Regions from separate parts of the Homo sapiens genome. Here regions 1, 2, 4 and 5 are each linked to region 3. Evidence: promoter capture Hi-C in 16 types of primary human blood cells and fetal thymus (Javierre and others, 2016). All regions are on one chromosome and are shown on one strand. The core of a region is centred on a gene start or on the middle of the fragment in contact, and the rest is flanking DNA. Distances in the headings are between cores, read along the strand shown. Region 1 overlaps BCL6B (BCL6B transcription repressor). Region 2 has its middle 10 kb from the start of SLC16A11. Region 3 holds the start of NEURL4 (neuralized E3 ubiquitin protein ligase 4). Region 4 overlaps FXR2 (FMR1 autosomal homolog 2). Region 5 holds the start of FXR2 (FMR1 autosomal homolog 2).

The links. The method cuts DNA at HindIII sites, captures the fragments that hold promoters and counts their contacts. A CHiCAGO score of 5 or more calls a contact.
Region 1: a fragment that was not itself captured here is called in contact with the fragment with the promoter of NEURL4 in region 3 in 2 of 17 cell types (naive B cells and monocytes); the score reaches 7.4 in naive B cells.
Region 2: a contact is called between a fragment that was not itself captured here and the fragment with the promoter of NEURL4 in region 3, in 8 of 17 cell types (M0 macrophages, naive B cells, monocytes and 5 more). The highest score is 8.6, in M0 macrophages.
Region 4: a fragment that was not itself captured here is called in contact with the fragment with the promoter of NEURL4 in region 3 in 15 of 17 cell types (activated CD4 T cells, naive B cells, total CD4 T cells and 12 more); the score reaches 13.1 in activated CD4 T cells.
Region 5: a contact is called between the fragment with the promoter of FXR2 here and the fragment with the promoter of NEURL4 in region 3, in 9 of 17 cell types (fetal thymus, naive CD4 T cells, total B cells and 6 more). The highest score is 8.4, in fetal thymus.

The regions. Positions count from the first base shown.
Region 1 is chr17:7,023,538-7,027,339 of GRCh38, reverse strand. It overlaps BCL6B (BCL6B transcription repressor), which reads right to left. Exons shown (of 9, transcript NM_181844.4): 2 at 3,490-3,680; 3 at 3,036-3,257; 4 at 2,577-2,939; 5 at 2,140-2,264; 6 at 719-883; 7 at 505-635; 8 at 253-390. The coding sequence starts at 3,668. Among named protein-coding and RNA genes, the nearest start is that of BCL6B, 2.4 kb to the right of the region's middle. The HindIII fragment of the contact is 163 bases long and covers 1,852-2,014 here.
Region 2 is chr17:7,052,277-7,056,045 of GRCh38, reverse strand. No RefSeq gene overlaps it. Among named protein-coding and RNA genes, the nearest start is that of SLC16A11, 10 kb to the right of the region's middle. The HindIII fragment of the contact is 959 bases long and covers 849-1,807 here.
Region 3 is chr17:7,327,398-7,330,656 of GRCh38, reverse strand. It overlaps NEURL4 (neuralized E3 ubiquitin protein ligase 4), which reads left to right and starts at 1,322. Exons shown (of 29, transcript NM_032442.3): 1 at 1,322-1,626; 2 at 2,773-3,217. The coding sequence starts at 1,345. RefSeq lists enhancers at 1-37, 918-967, 998-1,177, 1,113-1,407, 1,390-2,049 and a silencer at 1,378-1,617. The HindIII fragment of the contact is 8,367 bases long and covers 1-3,259 here.
Region 4 is chr17:7,593,127-7,596,505 of GRCh38, reverse strand. FXR2 (FMR1 autosomal homolog 2) reads left to right here. Exons shown (of 17, transcript NM_004860.4): 8 at 512-682; 9 at 1,749-1,827; 10 at 2,159-2,268; 11 at 2,502-2,588; 12 at 2,881-3,103; 13 at 3,325-3,379. Among named protein-coding and RNA genes, the nearest start is that of SOX15, 4.7 kb to the right of the region's middle. The HindIII fragment of the contact is 5,554 bases long and covers 1-3,379 here.
Region 5 is chr17:7,613,290-7,616,956 of GRCh38, reverse strand. It overlaps FXR2 (FMR1 autosomal homolog 2), which reads left to right and starts at 2,060. Exons shown (of 17, transcript NM_004860.4): 1 at 2,060-2,505. The coding sequence starts at 2,425. It also overlaps a transcript of SHBG not described here. RefSeq lists silencers at 1,816-1,865, 1,976-2,505. The HindIII fragment of the contact is 2,190 bases long and covers 1,088-3,277 here.

The DNA of each region.
Region 1 (3,802 bases), core at 684-3,183, 300 kb after region 3:
CCCCGCCTTATTTAGCAAAGGTTTTCCCACTTCTCAGCTCCTCTCTGAGAAAACAGTGCTCAGCCCAGGAGCATCACTTCTATACCTGCCCATCCTGACTCCCAGCCTCCACCCCTTATTTGCTTGGACTCTTCCGGCCACCGCTCATTTCTAAGAGATCTAGGGACAGCCAGGCCCGCACCTCTCAGAGCCCACCCCTAGGCAAAGGAGAGGTAATTCTAAGGCAGTGGGCAGGCCAGGTTGGGTACCCACGTGGTAAGGCTTCTCTCCGGTGTGGATGCGAACGTGGCTCTTGAGGGTCTGCAGGTGGCGGAAGCGGGTTCCGCAGGTAGGGCAAGGGTAGGGCTTCTCCCCGGTGTGGATCAGCACGTGCGCCCGCAGATGTGCCACCTGGGAGGGAGGAGACTTCAAGTCCTGCCTCTGGGAGGAACAGAACCCTCCCTATTGGCCCACCCCACCTCTTGCAGGTTTGCCTTGGAAGCCACTTGGAGGCTGGCTCCGTACCTGTACAAAGCGCGAGCCGCACGTCTCACACTTATACGGCTTCTCTCCCGAATGGATGCGGCTGTGCGTTTTCAGGTTTGCTGGCCGGTTAAAACGGGCTCCGCAGATTGAGCAGTGGTAAGGCTTTTCCCCTGGAGGCAGAGAACATGGGAGATCAGGGACTTTGCCCTAGGACAGCTGTGGGCTTGAAGGCCAGGGCCCTCTCTTCCCCTACCTGTGTGCACTGTACGATGACTGGCAAGGTTGCCCTTGTAGCGGAACGAAGACCGGCACAGCTGACACTTATAGGGTTTGTCTTCGTCCCCAGGAACCAAGGAGTCCAGCCCCGATGAGCACCCTGCCACAGCCTCACAGTTCTGGCAGCTGAAAAATTCACTTCCTGGGAAGGGGAATGGGTGACGGCAACCATAGTTATTAATGAGGGCTATCTAGGTACTACTGAATCCTCAAACCACACAGTAGCAGGCTTTCTGTTTCCCAATTTATTGTTAAGACTTCTGGGGCTGGTTTGACTTGCTCAAGGCCAAGTAAGAAGATAGTAAGATGAGCCAGATCTGACTGCACATCTGTCTGACTCGAGTACTCAGCTAATCTCCTCTTCAATAGCAGTGGTGGGGGCCAGGTACGGTGGCTCACGACTGTAATCCCAGCACTTTGGGAGGCCGAGGCGGTCGGATCACAAGGTCAAGAGATGGAGACCATCCTGGCCAACATGGTGAAACCTCGTCTCTACTAAAAATACAAAAAGTAGCTGGGTGTGGTGGCACGTGCCTGTAGTCCCAGCTACTCGGGAAGCTGAGGCAGGAGAATCGCTTGAACCTGGGATGTGGAGGTTGTAGTGAACCGAGATTGCGGCACTGCACTTCAGCCTGGCCACAGAGTGAGACTCCGTCTCAAAAAAATAAATAAATAAAATAAAAGCAGTGGTGGTAGGTGGAGGCCCCTGCTAGTGGGAGGAGTTTTGTTTCTCCTCCTGTTTTTTTTTTTTTTTTTTTTTTTGAGACAGAGTCTTGCTGTGTTGCCTATGCTGGAGTGCAGTGGTGTGATCTCGGCTCACTGCAATCTCCACCTCCCGGGTTCAGACGATCCTTCCACTTTAGCTTCCTGAGTAGCTGGGACTACAGGTGTGCACCACCGTGCCCGGCTAATTTTCATTTTTATTTTTTGTAGAGACCACATCTGACTATGTTGCCCAGGCTGGCCTTGAGCTCTTGGATTCAAGTGATCCTCCTGCACTGGCCTCCCAAAGTGCTGGCATTACAGGCATGAGCCACCATGCTTGGCTAAAATCTCCTCCTCACTTGCACCACTCTGAATGACAGCCTGCCAGAGAGGCCCTGACAAGCTTTGGGCTGACCATTCAGCTCTGAAAGGGGATAGGCCAGAAATTCTCAAACTTTGCTGCTCATTGGAAGCACTGGGAGAGCTTTAGAAAAATACTGATGACTCGTCCCATGTCCAGATATTTTAATCTATGGAGTGTGACCTGGGCAGTGGGAGTTTAAAAGCTTCCTAGGTGATTCTAATTTGTAATAAAGTTTAGGAACCATTGGAATAGGCCTTTCTGGGAGAGTTTTTGGCACAAACTTGCCTGGAGCAGTCACGGGAGAAAAGCCAAGAAAGAGGGGCTCTTACCCGGTAGTGGACGAGCCCGTTCAGAGGGTGATCCAGAGGTGTCTTGAGCCTGGGATGTGAGGAGGTAGGGGGTACTGGCTGGAGCCCCACATTTGAACTGCACAGTGGCAGCAGTTGGAGAGAGCCTAGGCAGATGGCAAGGAAAGGGTTAAAAGAGATTGTACGGTTGAGGGGTGGGGGTTCTCTCCTGGGAAATTTGGAGCCAAAGGCCTGCCCTCTCAGGGTGAGCCAATATTGTTGACCAATGAGCCACATCCATTGTACTGCCCAAGTGCCACCCTGCTGAATAAACCTGGTCTCTGGCCAGCTCCTTAAGGTGAGCTAGTGTCTCTGAAACCCACCACCTATCTCCCTTCCTCCTGACCATCAAGGCCCAATGACTCTGTCTTCTAGCTGAGGCCAGCTCTGACAAATTCTTGAGGTTCTAGACTCTGTACCTGCTCTGGGGACCAGGAATGGGTCCTTCTTCACTGCTGCTGCTGCTGCTGCTGCTGCTGCTGGAGGCCTCGTCTCCACTGGGGAGCCTGGCTTGGGGGCAAGGTTGACCAGAACTTCTCTCCCCGACCAGGCTCCCTGCTTGGGAGGCCTGAGAGTTTAGCACGATGTACTTGTACTTTTTCCAGTTGCAGGCCTTGGGGTCAGGGCTGGCTGGACTGGGGGGGCCTTGACTGCAGCTTCGAGATTCAGTAGGTGGGTCTGGGTGTCCTTCGGAGCGCCTGGGACTACCTGGTGGAGGGGCCGTTGGGGGTGTTGGGGGTTCTGCTTCCAGGGGGCGCAGGGAGATGCCCAGAGGTTCATAGCTGGGGAAAGTGTGATGAACGTTAGTGCCATTTCCTAAACTCTGCCTTTGCCCTTAACACCTCACCCACAGAGAACGCCGAGCCAGGGTCCCTCACCTGGCCTGGATGAAGCGGTGGCATGCCTGGACCACGTGCTCCATCTGCAAATAGGTGGCGGCCGCTAGGACTGCTGGTGCAGTGGCTGGAGAGAGGCGCAGGCGCGAAGTGTACATGAAGTCCAATAGAGGGGCGAAGCCTCTCGCTTCGGGACCCCCGGGCAGAGAGAGCACGTCCACCCCGACTCCCGCACGGCCCCGGAAAATTGAATAGAAGAAGCCACTAGAGAGAGAGCAGATAAGTCCTTTGGGGGCTGGGGAACCAAGGGAGACATGCGCAGCTTCAGGAAGCCCCGCCCCCTGAAAAAGTCCCGCCTCCTCACTATCACCCCGCCCCCAATTCTGGGACGCTCCGCCTCCTGCTTCTGAAAGACTTGGCTTCGGATTCCCTCTCAACGGCCCTGTGGTCCCACCCCTTTCCCATTTGGCCCCGCCCCAGGCCCCACCCCTCGAACCTGCAGGCGATGAGAACTGCCTTGTGTGCTCTGAGGGGTTGCCCGCCAACCAGCAGCGTGACGTCAGTGAGGATCCCGCGCAGGCGCAGCTCGTTGAGGTTGCCCAGCACGTCGGAGGAGTGGCGAGTGAACTCGCGGACGTAGCCCAGCGCTCCCTCCGGGGCGGCGGGGGAACCCATAGCGACACAGGCCTGTAGAGGCCGTGGAAAGTGCTCTGGATCCAGGCAGTCCTAAGACGCCTTCCCTCCTCTGTTTGCCTTTTCCTTCCGAGGTGCAACTAGAGCCAGGACTTCCAGCCCCTAGCCCCGGCACA
Region 2 (3,769 bases), core at 79-2,578, 270 kb after region 3:
ATCCGCCCACCTCGGCCTCCCAAAGTGTTGGGATTACAGGCGTGAGCCACCGGACCCGGCCTGGGATTAGATTTCAACATATGAATTTGACGGGGAGAGGCACAAACATTAAGATCATAGCAATTACCATCTTTTTTTTCCTCAAAAGTAGGAACTATTATAATTTGCTTTGGGGATGAGGGAACTATTGCAAAGAGAGGTTGAATAACTTGCTCTAGGTTATATAGCCAGTAAGTACCAAAGCCAGGGCTTGAACCCAGACAATCTGGTTCCAGGGTTCGTGTTTGTCCCACCATGTTATGTTGCCTCTTAATAACATATACTAAAATACACTCACATTCCACACTAAATATATTTTTACAATTAAAAATTTAAAAGATTTCTTTTTTTTTTTTTTGAGACGGAGTCTTGTTCTGTCGCCCAGGCTGGAGTGCAGTGGTGCGATCCCTGCTCACTGCAAGCTCCGCCTCCTGGGTTCACTCCGTTCTCCTGCCTCATCCTCCCGAGTAGCTGGGACTACAGGTGCCCGCCACTACACCCGGCTAATTTTTTTGTGTTTTTAGTGGAGATGGGGTTTCACCCTGTTAGCCAGGATGGTCTCGATCTCCTGACCTCGTGATCCGCCCACCTCGGCCTCCCAAAGTGCTGGGATTACAAGCGTGAGCCACCGTGCCCGGCCCAAAAATTTAAAAGATTTCTAAGATTTTTTGCCGTTTAAAATCTTAAAAGGACGTTTATTCTTTTAAAGGATTGTTTGTCTATAAGAAACTCAGTGAATCTATGATTGGCTCTGATTTCTCAGCAATCACGATAAACATTTAGGAAATCCTGCAAAGTGAAAAAAAGCTTCAAATTGTTTTCCAATGTAATGAAAATTTAGGAACATGAAATTTAACAAAGAAATGGACTAATATTATGTTTTGTAGACATTTTTAAAAACGCTTTAATATTCATTACTTTAGATTTTTAAGTTTGCCTTTTGTATTTGGAAATCGGTACACTTTTTCATATCCCTAGCATTTCTGTAAGCATGGGGAATGCTTTTAGCCCTAAGCCCTGCATACTTAGGGAATAAATATACTCTCCTCAAGGACAACAGGGAAATAAACCCAGAAACCACATGCCATGCAAGAACAGCGGGGCTTTATGAGTCCTGGAGCTCAGGTGTCAGCCCACTCTGCTGCTCACTGTGTTCAGCACTCACTGGCCACAGTCCTGAAACATCAGCTCTTGGGGCGGTGGCATCAACTTCCTATCTCCCAGATCCCTGGGCCCAGGGAAGGGGAAGCTGATTACCCATAAATCAGGGTGCTCGGCCGGGCATGGTGGCTTAAGCCTGTAATCCCAGCACTTTGGGAGGCCGAGGCAGGTGGATTACCTGAGCTTGGGAGTTCACCACCAGCCTGGGTAACACGGTGAATCCCTGTCTCTACTAAAATACAAAAAATTAGCCGGGCATGGCGGCATGTGCCTGTAATCCCAGCTACTCGGGAGGCTGAGGCAGGCGAATTGCTTGAACCTGGGAGGCGGAGGTTGCAGTGAGCAGAGATTGCGCCACTGCACTCCAGCCTGGGTGACAGAATGAGACTCCATCTAAAAAAAAAAAAATCAGAGTCCTCTTTCTACGTACCCAGTTGATGAGATGCCCGAGGCCCCGCCTCACCTCTCTGTAGGCCTGTGCAGGTGTGATTTCCCTCCAGGTGAGACCATGACACCCGTCCCTCACAAATGTGTTTTAAACCAGAATCGGTCTCATTGCAAGGGACTCCTGATTGTGAATGGAGGAGAGAAAGATAGGATGAAAGCTTGAGATGGAGGTAGCTAAAGCTGGGTATGGCTCTTTGAATGGGATAGAGGGAAGGAACCCTAAAGAAGAGATGCTGCCCAGCATTTAAAACGTTTTGACAGTAGGGGAGAGGCAGGAGAAAGCTTTGCAGAGGAAATGGCATGGAGATGTGGGCAGGGGCAAAGGAGATTCATGGCCAACAAGAGGTACAGAAAGGAACGCACTGGGAGGGACAAGATCCACCTGCACAAGGACAGGAAGAGGCTTGTGTGGCATCCACTGCAGCCAGTTGCAGCCTCTTCAGCGTCTGGGCCCTTCTATGACTTTGGGACTTTCTCAGGGCTTAGCCCCCACGCGACTCCTCCCAGTGTTCACAAAGGCATTTCTGCCTTGGGGCAAGAAAACAGGCACCATTTGCTTACTGGGCCCCCAAAACTCTGCCTTGCATATGTCAGATCCTCCAAGATGTGTAATTTACATCCCTGCAGAAAACCTGTTATCTGACCTCCTGTCCCCTCCTGCCTTGGCTTCTGGTCCTGGTTGATATTCCTTGGGGAGGTAGAGACTCTGGCCAGGCAGGGCTGCTGCAGCCCTAAGGGCTGATGTGGGTTACCATGTCCACTAAGAGCCTGCATCCTTCAAGTCAGATGCCCAGGTCTCAGGCTGAGGCTGGGAAGGCAGACAAAGGGACCCAAAAAACTCAGGTAGCTGAGAGGTTGGTATAGCAGCAGGGAGATGACAAATATCACCTTCTGGCCCCTTCTGGTCTGACTGCCCCTCACAAATCCAGACAGGAGGGGCATAGTGACTTGGAGTAGAATTGGACTGGCGTAGAGATGAAAGGGTGGCTACCGGTGGCTAGAAAATGGGATGGAATGAAATGGATGGGAACCTACATTTGTAGGACGCCTGCCCTGTGCCTGGAGTTGTGCTGGGTCCTTCCCAAGCTTTACTTCACTGAAGTCTCACCAACAATCCTTTGAAGCATTGCCCCCTTTTTATAGATGCCTGGAAATGGTGGGAGTCGGAACTCAGGGACTGTGCTTTTAATAACTCACCAGGTCTGGCTGGGCACAGTGGCTCATGCCTGTAATCCCAGCACTTTGGGAGGCCGAGGTGGGTGGATCACGAGGTCAGGAGTTCGAGACCAGCCTGGCCAATATGGTGAAACCCCGTCTCTACTAAAAATACAAAAATTAGCCGGGCATGGTGGCGGGTGCCTGTAGTCGCAGCTACTCAGGAGGCTGAGGCAGGAGAATCGCTGGAACCCGGGAGGCGGAGGTTGTGGTAAGCCGAGATCGTGCCACTGCACTCCAGCCTGGGCGACAGAGGAGACTCCATCTCAAAAAAAAAAAAAAAAAAAAAAAAAAATCACCAGGTCCGATTGGATTCTCATTCCTATTCTAATAATCCATTTTAGTTGGGCTTACACAGTTTTAGGATATTTTTGGCCTTCTTGCATCTGAAGCCTTTAAGAAAATTTCCACCTTATTATTATTAGTTTTTTTTTTGAGATGGAGTCTCACCCCATCATCCAGGCTGGAATGCAGTGGCGCGATCTCAGCTCACTGCAACCTCTGCCTCCCTGGTTCAAGCGATTCTCCCACCTCAGCCTCCCAAGTAGCTGGGATTACAGATGCGTGCCACCACATTTGGATAATTTTTGTACTTTTAGTAGAGGTGGGGTTTTGCGATATTGGCCAGGCTGGTCTCAAACTCCTGACCTCAGGTGATCCACCTGCCTCGGCCTCCCAAAGTGCTGGGATTACAGGCGTGAGCCACCGCGTGCCCAGGCCCACCTTATTATTTTTGAAGGGAGGCAGAACCCATCTGTCTATAGACACTGAAAGCACTAGGTTCTCACTCTTCCTGCCACCCCTTCCAGCTAGGATGAAAGCACGTGGCCTAGGTTCCGGTGGTCAGGATCACTGGACTTAGATTTGAGGGCCCAGAAGCAGAGAACACGTCCGAGGAGCAGCAGCT
Region 3 (3,259 bases), core at 73-2,572:
CGGAGGGACAGCTTGAACCAGTACTATGAGTTACGGAGCCCCCTGAGTGCACGTGGGGCCCAGAACCGTGAAACAAGACTACTCTGGAGGGCTGCCCAGCGCCTGCCTCGACTCCTGTGACCGCTGCGGGCACTCCTCTGGCTGCCCCTCCAGGGGAATCCCGGTTGAGGCCGCCAGCAGCCCCTAGGGACTCCACCTTCTCCATGGCCCCACTGGGGGGCTGCTCTCAGCGATCCTGACCCGCCTCCCGGCTCCACGTAGCCCCGCCCCTGGCCCCGCCCCCACCGCTGCCGGCCGGGGATGCTCGGGCTCAGTCCCGGGTCCACTTCTCCCCTGCTCCAGAGCTGCGGCGGGCGGAATCAAGACTATATAGAGACTCGGGCTGGGGGTCCCTCCGCTCGCCCCTTTCCTTTGTGTCCCACCCAAAGATTTTCTTTGTCTGGGCAATTTGTTCCCGCCCTTCTCCATCACCACCCTCATCCAAACCAGCCAATCCCAGTCAGGGGGCCAGGCCAGGAGCTTCGACTGTGACCTCACGGTCCTCCAGCCTGAGCTTGAGCTTCGGGGAGTTGGGCAGGGGGCTTGTTAATAGCTCTAAGGGAGATCTTTTGGGGTCATCAACGCTGTCGCTTGAAACGGCCTGTCGGGACTTCTTTAGACTCTTTGTGGTCTTAACATGGAATAGTTTGGTTGAGTTGGAGTTGAAGCTGGGCTTGACTTGAACTATCAGCGAGCTTCCCCCACCCCCGCCAGTCGGCTAGCTCAGCCAATCAGAAGAGGTGTGAGGCAAAGTGGAAGGACTGCCGCACTGTTGCAAGACACTTCGTCCTCAGTCGGGTGGCGGGAAGAGACTTTCACTACCGCTTCTCTGGGTCCTCCAGACTCGGCTCACGCTGCTTTGGAGCCTGCATCCCGAGGGGAGACACCCCCTCTTGCCGTAAAGCGAGTGCTTCAAGGTGTCACCGCCCCCTAGCGAGGGCGGGGTCGTCGGTGCCGCTGTCGCAAAGCAGAAAGTGTTTGGGCTCCAGCACCCCACCGTCGTAAAGATGCCTGCGGTGGGCGTGTCTTTCTCCCACTGTCGCAAAAGCTCCCTGCCCAGGTCTTCGTCCCCCTCGGAGCCGCTCCGTCACCTCGCTATGCCGTAAAGCGAGGCTCCCGACCCCGTGTCCTTCTGTTCTCATCGTGGTCGTCCCCAGCTCCTAGCGCGGGCTGCTTCATTGCCCGGCAGTGCCGTAAAGCATACCTGGCCTCAGCCCCCCGGTCGTATCCCTCGGACTGTCTGCCCGACGCGGTTGCCACGGTGCCGCCAAGCGCGGCTGTCGCGCTGCCCCGGTGTCAGCGGAGATGGCGGCAGGGTCGGGTGGGAGTGGGGGCTCTGGGGGAGGCCCTGGACCGGGGCCGGGCGGGGGTGGGGGCCCCAGCGGGAGCGGCTCAGGACCGGGGTCCAACGGGGGTCTGGGCAGCGGCGGGGAACTGCACCCGCGCACTGGGCGCTTGGTGAGCCTGTCGGCCTGTGGGCGTACGGCGCGGCGGCAGCAGCCGGGCCAGGAGTTTAACCACGGGCTGGTGTTGAGCCGAGAACCCTTGCGCGATGGACGCGTCTTCACCGTCCGCATCGACCGCAAGGTGCAGCGCTGGTACCGCGGAACAGAGATGTGGAGGGTGGTGGGAGGCGTCTAGAGGGAGACGGGGTAGGACAGCCAGGGTAGCCCACATTGCCGGGCACCGAGAGGGAACAGAAAGACCATAGAGCACCAGGGGGCGGTCAGGAAGACAGCATGAAGCAGAAACATTGAGTTTGAAGATGACATTAAGAGCTTGAGTTTTCTCAAGATCCAGAACCAGGGAAGGGACACGAGGGCTAACCCACTAGAATGGCTGGGAACAGACCTCCTGGTACAATTTCTTGGGCATGGAGGATGGAGAGATGTCAGAGATGTGATGGCAAGTGAAGAAAGATGCCAAGGAACGAACAAACGTAATCCCAGCACTTTGGGAGTCCGAGGCGGGCGGATCACTAGAGTCAGGGGTTTGAGACCAGCCTGGTGAACGTGGTGAAACCCCGTCTTTACTAAAAATACAAAAATTGGCCAGGCATGGTGGCGTGCGCCTGTAATCCCAGCTACTCTGGAGGCTGAGGCAGGAGAATGGCTTGAACCCGGGAGGCAGAGGTTGCAGTGAGCTGAGATCATGCCATTGCACTCCAGCCTGGGCAATAGAGTGAGTGAGACTCCGTCTCAAAAAAACAGAACAAACCATTGAAGGACAGAGGCTGTGCCAGAAAGATAGGTGAGGAGAAAGATCCAGGGTGAGGGAGGTGTGTGTGATTCAGTGAAGAGGCCAGGCTCACAGAAAAAGAACTTGGAAGGAGATTGAATCTGGGTAGAGCCTGATCTTTGGAGAGAATTAGGCCAGGGGAAAGGAATGAATGATACACAAGAGCAAGAGGTGTGGGTATAGGAAGTAGGAGAATTTGGATGGTTGGAGAGCCATAGAGACAAGGAAAGTTAGAGGAGGCAGGAGGTTGGAACCAAGGAATTTGTGCTTGGCTTGGAAAGGAGTGGTTTAGTAAACACTGAGTAGAGAGCAGAGTTGCTAAAGGAAAGCCCAAATAATTACCAAGACGGAGTCCAGAAAATCACTGTCTGCATCTCTGGATTAGTGTTCCAAGAGACAGAAAGCCAGCTAGCTGTCTGAGAGGTGGGAAGATATGGTGGCCTGTGGAATGGGGGGTGGCCCATTCTAAGCCTCTGTCCAATACCCCTATCCCAGGTCAACTCCTGGAGCGGCTCCATTGAGATTGGGGTGACAGCGCTGGACCCCAGTGTGCTGGACTTTCCAAGCAGTGCCACGGGCCTGAAGGGGGGCTCGTGGGTAGTGTCGGGCTGCTCTGTGCTGAGAGATGGACGCTCTGTGTTGGAGGAGTATGGTCAGGACCTGGACCAGCTTGGTGAAGGGGACCGCGTGGGCGTGGAGCGCACAGTTGCTGGGGAGCTTCGGCTCTGGGTGAATGGGCGGGATTGCGGTGTGGCTGCCACAGGCCTGCCCCCTCGTGTCTGGGCCGTCGTGGACCTTTATGGCAAGTGCACCCAGATCACCGTGCTACCCCCTGAGCCAGGCTTCAGCCCCCCTACTCCCATCCCCACACCTCCCCTCGAGCCCTTGGCCCCCACTGAAGACTCTGCCTTGGCTGAACAGGGGACCTCTGCAGATGAAGGTGAGAACACAGCTAGGGCAGTGGTGGTGGGGTGGGGACGGA
Region 4 (3,379 bases), core at 574-3,073, 270 kb before region 3:
ACAAACCACTGGTATTTGGAAGGAGTGGAATTAAAAGTTCCTGACCTTGGCCGGGCGTGGTGGCTTATGCCGGTAATCCCAGCACTTTGGGAGGCTGAGGCGGGCGGATCACCTGAGGTCAGGAGTTTGAGACCAGCCTGGCCAACATGGTGAAACCTTGTCTCTACTAAAAATACAGAAATTAGCCAGGCATGGTGGTGGACACCTGTAGTCGTAGCTACTCAGGAGGCCGAGGCATGAGAATCACTTGAAGTCGAGAGGCGGAGGTTGCAGTGAGCTGAGATCGCGCCACTGCACTCCAGCCTGGGCGACAGAGCGAGACGCCATCTCAAAGAAAAAACAAAAAGTTCCTGACCTTTCCACACAGGTCCTCGTGGTCCGCGGACTCCAGAGTGGTTCTAGCTTTCTATTAATATCACACAGTTTTCCTTATTTAAGTTATGCAAAGGGTCGTGTGCCTGGGACTGTGAGATTCTACCACCATGATTCCTACAGTGACTTTTCCTTTCAGACAAGCAAGCAGTTGGCAGCAGCCTTCCAAGAGGAGTTCACAGTGCGAGAGGACCTGATGGGACTGGCAATTGGGACTCACGGTGCCAACATCCAGCAGGCCCGAAAAGTACCTGGGGTGACCGCCATTGAGTTGGGTGAAGAGACCTGCACTTTCCGCATCTATGGGGAGGTCAGCAAAGGATGTCTTTCTTCTGGGTCTCTTAGGGGATAGAGGGAAGAGAGGCCGAAGTAGAAAATAAGCCTCAAACTGGGCACAGTGGCTCACACCTGTAATCCCAGCACCTTCGGAGGTCAAAGTGAGAGGATCACTTGAGCCTAGGAGTTTGAGACCAGCCTGTGCAACATAGTGAGACCCAATCTCTACAAAAATTTAAAAATTAGCTGGAAGTAGTGGTGCGTACCTGTAGTCGCAGGTACTTGGGAGGCTGAAATGGGAAGATAGAGGGGAGGATCACTTGAGCCTGGGAGTTGGAGAACAACCTGGACAACATAGAGAGACCCTGTCTTTACCCCCCAAAAAAACCAAAAACCAAAAAACGTTAACTGAGCGTGGTGGCATGCATCTGTGGCCCCAGCTACTTGGCTACTTGGGAGGCGGAGGCAGGAGGATCACTTGAGCCTGGAAAGTCAAGGCTGCAGTACACCATGATGGTGCCACTGAACCAACCTGGGCAACATAGTCAATAGAGTGAGACCAAAAAATCAAAAAAATAGACCAGATCTCTGTTGCCCAAGCTGGTTGTTAACTCCTAGCCTCAAGCAATCCTCCCTTCTTAGCCTCCGAAACTGTTGAGATTATGGGTGTGAGCCGCTGTGCCTGGCCAAGGTCCTCTGTTTTTTTTTTTAAGTTATTTATTTGTTTAATTTTTTTTTTTTATGAGATGGAGTCTAACTCACTCTGTTGCCCGGGCTAGAGTGCAGTGGCACAATCTCAGCTTATTGCAACCTCTGCCTCCTGGGTTCAAGAAATCTCCTGCCTCAGCCTCCGGAGTAGCTGGGATTAGAGACGTGAGCCACCAATTTTGTATTTTTAGTATTTTAGTATTTTTGTATTTTGATTTTTGTATTTTTAGTAGAGATGGCGTTTCACCATATTGCCCAGGCTAGTCTTGAACTCTTGAGCTCAATTTATCCACCTGCCTCCAGCCTCCCAAAGTGCTGGGATTACAGGCGTGAGCCACCACATCCAGCTGGTCTTCTGTTTTAGTAACAACTCCCTGCTGTTCTTCCTTTAGACTCCCGAGGCTTGCCGACAGGCCCGAAGCTACCTTGAGTTTTCTGAGGACTCAGTGCAAGTGCCCAGGAACCTGGTTGGTGAGTTGGTGGTGTGTATATACAGTTAGAGGTCAGAATCAAGATTCTCTACAGTGATTCTGAGCTTTTATCCAGGATTGGCACCTCCCTGTGGACTCCCAGTTTCACAAGGACAGAGAAACAGTCTGTAATGGGAGTGATAAAAATGAAAGAATAAATTTCTAGGGATTGTAACATTTTGTCCTGTAAAAACACATCAGAAACCTAGAAGCAGGAGAATGAAGTAAATGGAATCCATATAAAGAAAATGAGGCTGGAAGACGGTGTATCAGCTTTATTCTTATTTCCTTAAAAAAAATAAAAGGCTGAATTCCTCATTTACCTATTCCAGGCAAAGTGATTGGAAAGAACGGGAAAGTGATCCAGGAGATTGTGGATAAATCTGGTGTGGTGAGGGTTCGAGTGGAAGGTGATAATGACAAGAAGAACCCCAGGGAGGAGGTATGGGTACGGGGCAAGTGGGCATAGAGATTGGTTTCCAGAAGTAAATGGGATTGTCCTCTGAGGGCTGGGATTGTTCTTTGAGAGGGTGGAGTACGGAAAGTTGTTTAACACTAGTAGATTTAGAGCCCAGAATGATCCCACTGGGCAGGCTCCCCTAGGAGACTGGGCGGCGTTAATCCTTCCATTTCATTTTCCTTTCTGATCCATCGTTTCTGCTCTCTGTTCTCTAGGGAATGGTTCCCTTCATTTTTGTTGGCACCCGAGAGAACATCAGCAATGCCCAGGCTTTGCTGGAGTATCACCTCTCCTACCTGCAGGTACCCAGGCCGGGAGAGAAAAATGCTGGGTGTGAAAAGGGAACTAAGACTGCTGTGGGGGTCAGCTCAGGGATTTTGGTTCTCTGTTTGTCTCTCCGTGTAGAACAGAAAACATCTGTGGAAATTTGGGGCTATAGGGTTGGGTCCCAGAATTTTCCTTGTTTAGCCAGTGTCTTCCTTCTCCCTGCATTCCTGAGAGGTTAGATATAGAGGGACAGTCAGGGTGCAGAAGCATGAAGCAAGGCACTGATCTTATTTCTCCTTCCCCTTCTTCCATCTTTTACCCAACCAGGAGGTAGAGCAGCTTCGCTTGGAGAGGCTACAAATTGATGAGCAGCTTCGGCAGATTGGGCTGGGCTTTCGCCCTCCTGGGAGTGGGCGGGGCAGCGGTGGCAGCGACAAGGCTGGATATAGCACTGATGAGAGCTCCTCCTCCTCCCTCCATGCGACTCGAACCTATGGGGGCAGCTATGGGGGCCGTGGCCGTGGCCGGAGGACAGGCGGTCCTGCCTATGGTGAGACAGTTATGGGAACAGGAGGCAAGGAGTGGCAGGGCTTGTGGGTAGAGGCAGAGGTCTGGATGGAAGTTTGGGGAAATCTGGAATGGAGATGATGAAAAAGTGATTGATTGGCTGGGAGGCTTGTGAGTGAGAAGGAGAATTCTTCCAGTTTGGGGGATGTGATGGATCCTGAGGTGGGATGAATGGCCGTGAATAAATCCCATTGTGTTCTTCAGGCCCCAGCTCAGATGTGTCTACAGCTTCAGAGACTGAGTCAGAGAAGAGAGAGGA
Region 5 (3,667 bases), core at 811-3,310, 290 kb before region 3:
TATTATTATTACTATTTTTTGAGACAGAGTGTCGCTCTTTTTGCCCAGGCTGGAGTGCAATGGCACAATCTGGGCTCACTGCAACCTCTGCCTCCCAGGTTCAAGCAATTCTCTTGCCTCAGCCTCCCAAGTAGCTGGGTTTACAGGCATGCACCACCATGCCCAGCTAATTTTTGTATTTTTAGTAGAGATGGGGTTTCACCATGTTGGCCAGGCTGGTCTTGAACTCCTGACCTTGTGATCCACCCATCTTGGCCTCCCAAAGTGCTGGGATTACAGGCGTGAGCCACCGCGCCGGGCCACTATTATTATTATTTGTTGTTGTTGTTGTTGAGATGGAGTCTCGCTCTGTCGCCCCAGCTGGAGTGCAGTGGCACGATCTCCGCTCACTGCAACCTCCGCCTCCTGGGTTCACGCCATTCTCCTGCCTCAGCCTCCCGAGTAGCTGGGACTACAGGCGCCCGCCACCACGCCCAGCTAATTTTTTTTTTTTTTTTTTTTTTTTGTATTTTTAGTTGAGATGGGGTTTCACCGTGTTAGCCAGGATGGTCTCGATCTCCTGACCTCGTGATCCGCCCGTCTCGGCCTCCCAAAGTGTTGGGATTATAGGCATGAGCCACCGCGCCCTGCCATTATTATTATTTTTAAAGAAGAAATTTCACTCATTGCCCAGGCTGGAGTGTGGTGGCATGATATCCACTCACTGCAACCTCCACCTTCCTAGGTTCAAGCGATTCTCCTGCCTCAGCCTCCTGAGTAGCTGGGACTCCTTCCGAGTAGCTGGAACTACCACGGCTAATTTTTTGTATTTTAGTAGAGACGAGGTTTCACCATGTTGGCCAGAATGGTCTCCATCTCCTGACCTCGTGATCCGCCCGCCCGTGATCTCGGCCTCCCAAAGTGCTGGGATTACAGGCCTGAGCCACCGCGCCCGTCCTAATTTTTGTATTTTTAGTAGAAACAGGGTTTCGCCCTGTTGAGGCTGGTGTCAAACTTTTGGGCTCAAGTGATCCACCGCCTGAGCCTCCTAAAGTGCTGGGATTACAGGAGTGAGCCACAGCGCCCGTCTGAAACTATTCTTAAAGCTTTCTTTCTATTCTTTCTTTCTTTTTTTTTTTTTTTTGAGACTGAGTCTTGCTCTGTCGCCCAGGCTGGAGTGCAATGGTGCGATCTTGGCTCACTGCAACTTCTGCCTCCCAGGTTCAAGGTAGTCTCCTGCCTCAGCCTCCCGAGTATCTGGGATTACAGGCGCGTGTCACCACGCCCGGCTAATTTTTGTATTTTATTAGATGCGGGGTGGGGGGGGGGGTGGGTTTCACCATTTTGGCCACGCTGGTCTCGAACCCCTGACCTCAGGTGATCCGAGGACCTCAGGTGATCCACCTGCCTCGGCCTCCCAGAGCGCTGGGATTACAGGCGTGAGCCACCGCGCCCGGCCAAAACTTTCATTGTATCACAATCTCTTCAAGGTAAGAGCCATGACTGTTAAATCTACTACAGTAGAGAGTTACAGATTCTTAAAATATCGGCGATGCATACGCGAAGAGGGTAAAGCTCAGCGCGTGCGCACCAAGCACCTTTTTCCTTGCGGCGACTCCTCTTCTTTTTTTTTTCTTTTTGGAGCGTGCGCACCAAGAAAGACAAAGGTGGGGAAAGTGACCAAGCAGTCGTTCAGGCGCATGCCCATCCCTAACTTGTCCAAGCCCGGTGGGGCCAGCGGCGGCGGAGTGGGTGTGGCCTGAGCGCTGTGTGACTGTGCGGACGCCGCCCAATCGGACTGAGCGAGCCCGGCCCCTCCCTCCCCCTGATTGGTTGGTTCTCAGTGTTGTGGGGCGGGGAAAGGAAGAGACGGGGTGGCTGGGCGGTGGAGCGGTGAAGAAAGAAGGCTAATCTTGTTCTGCGCAAGCGCTAGCAAGCGACCAGGAGGGGGAGTGAGAGAGTGAAAGGGAATGTGGAAGCCCCGATGCGCTAGCTGGCGCTAGCTGGGGCTCTAACCTTGACGCCTGCGCGGTGGCCCTCGGGGCCCCGCGCGCAGCGGGCGGGTGCCCGGTGCGCCTGCGCAGTAGGCGGCGGTGGCAGGGGGAGGTGGAGGCTGTGGAGCGGCAGCGGCAGCAGCGGGTCCCGGGACTGAGGCAGCAGCGGGGGCGGCGGCGGGCGGAAGCTGAGGTGACGAAGGCAGCGGCGGCGGCGGCCGTTTCCCTCACGGTGGCGGAGACCAAGGCGGCGGCGGCGGACGGGGAGCGGCCCGGCCCCGGCCCCCTGCTCGTTGGCTGTGGCAGGGCCGCCGTGGGGCCGGCCCGGCTCCCGCCCCCCGCGGCTCCCCCTCCGGCTCCTCCTCCGGGGAGACGCCGGGGGCCTGGCCCGGCCCGCACTCAGACTGCTGCTGCAGCCGCCGCCGGGGGAGTCGGAGGCGGTGGCGGCGCCATGGGCGGCCTGGCCTCTGGGGGGGATGTGGAGCCGGGACTGCCCGTCGAGGTGCGCGGCTCCAACGGGGCCTTCTACAAGGTGAGACGGCGCGCCGACTGGGGACGCCGGTCCTTAGCCCCCTCCCCTGGCCGGAGCAGGAACGCGTGGGGCGGGATCGAGCTTCTGGAGCTGAGTCCTGGCCCTTAGAATCTTGGACCCTTGCTCCAACCCGCAGCCTTCCCTGGGAGACCGCTTAGAGTGAACCCTGTTCCTCTTATTTTTGACCCCTCTAAGGCACCTGCACCTGCTTCTACCCCCATCTCCGGGAGAATGAACTTCAGGCCATTATTGTCCCTGGCTTGGCGCTCCCCGCTCCGCAGGAGAGACCCCTTTACCCAGCTTCTAATTGACTGTGTCCGTTGTCTGGTGGAAGACATACCTTAGACCTTAATCACATCTTCCCCACGATCCAAGCACATGGAGAATTGTCTTTCTTCCACACGGTCCCTTTGGGAAGGCCCTCTGTCCCGTAAAAGATCCTTTCATCTTCCTCAGAGAGGCCTCTGCCTACTGGCTCTGGAACACTCACCCCACTTTCATCTTATATTCCGGTTCCCAAGCCAAGGAGAAATGGTCAGATCCATTTACGACGTTTGGCATCTTTGACCTCAGGAACCCTGGGTTGGATCAGTCAAGTTGCTTCCCAGCCAGCCATAAGGTGGCATCTTTCGCAAGTCTCTCTCCCCACCACACCTTGATCTCAAGACCCACTGCTCTACCATTCTACTCAGGAATGGATTTGAGGTCTCACTTAGACCTCAGATACCTTCAGGTCATTCATATAGTTTCTTCGTCTTGAGGCATGTAAGCTTCATAGTCATAATCTCTAAAAGGATCTCTGAAAGGAAGCTTATGAGGTTCCCTTCTGTTTATCTTAAGATTTCCACTTCTTGAAGACTCTTGGCCAACTATCCCAGTTCGGGAATCTGACAACCTTTTTTGGAAGACGGGATCATCTTTCAAAGACCCTTCCTTATTTCACCTCCCCCTTTGCCCAGGATTTGGTTCCTTAGAACTCCTTATAATACCACCTTCCTTATCTGCTCTGAATCTATTTTCTAGGACATTTTTTTCCCATTTAGATTAAGCCAGAGAGAGCCCTTTCTTGCCTCCCAAGAGTTTTTCTTTGTGTGACTGTTGGTATTCTGAACCTCTTGGATTTGATGCCTGGAATTGTCCTAGAGACTCTCCTGATTTCTGT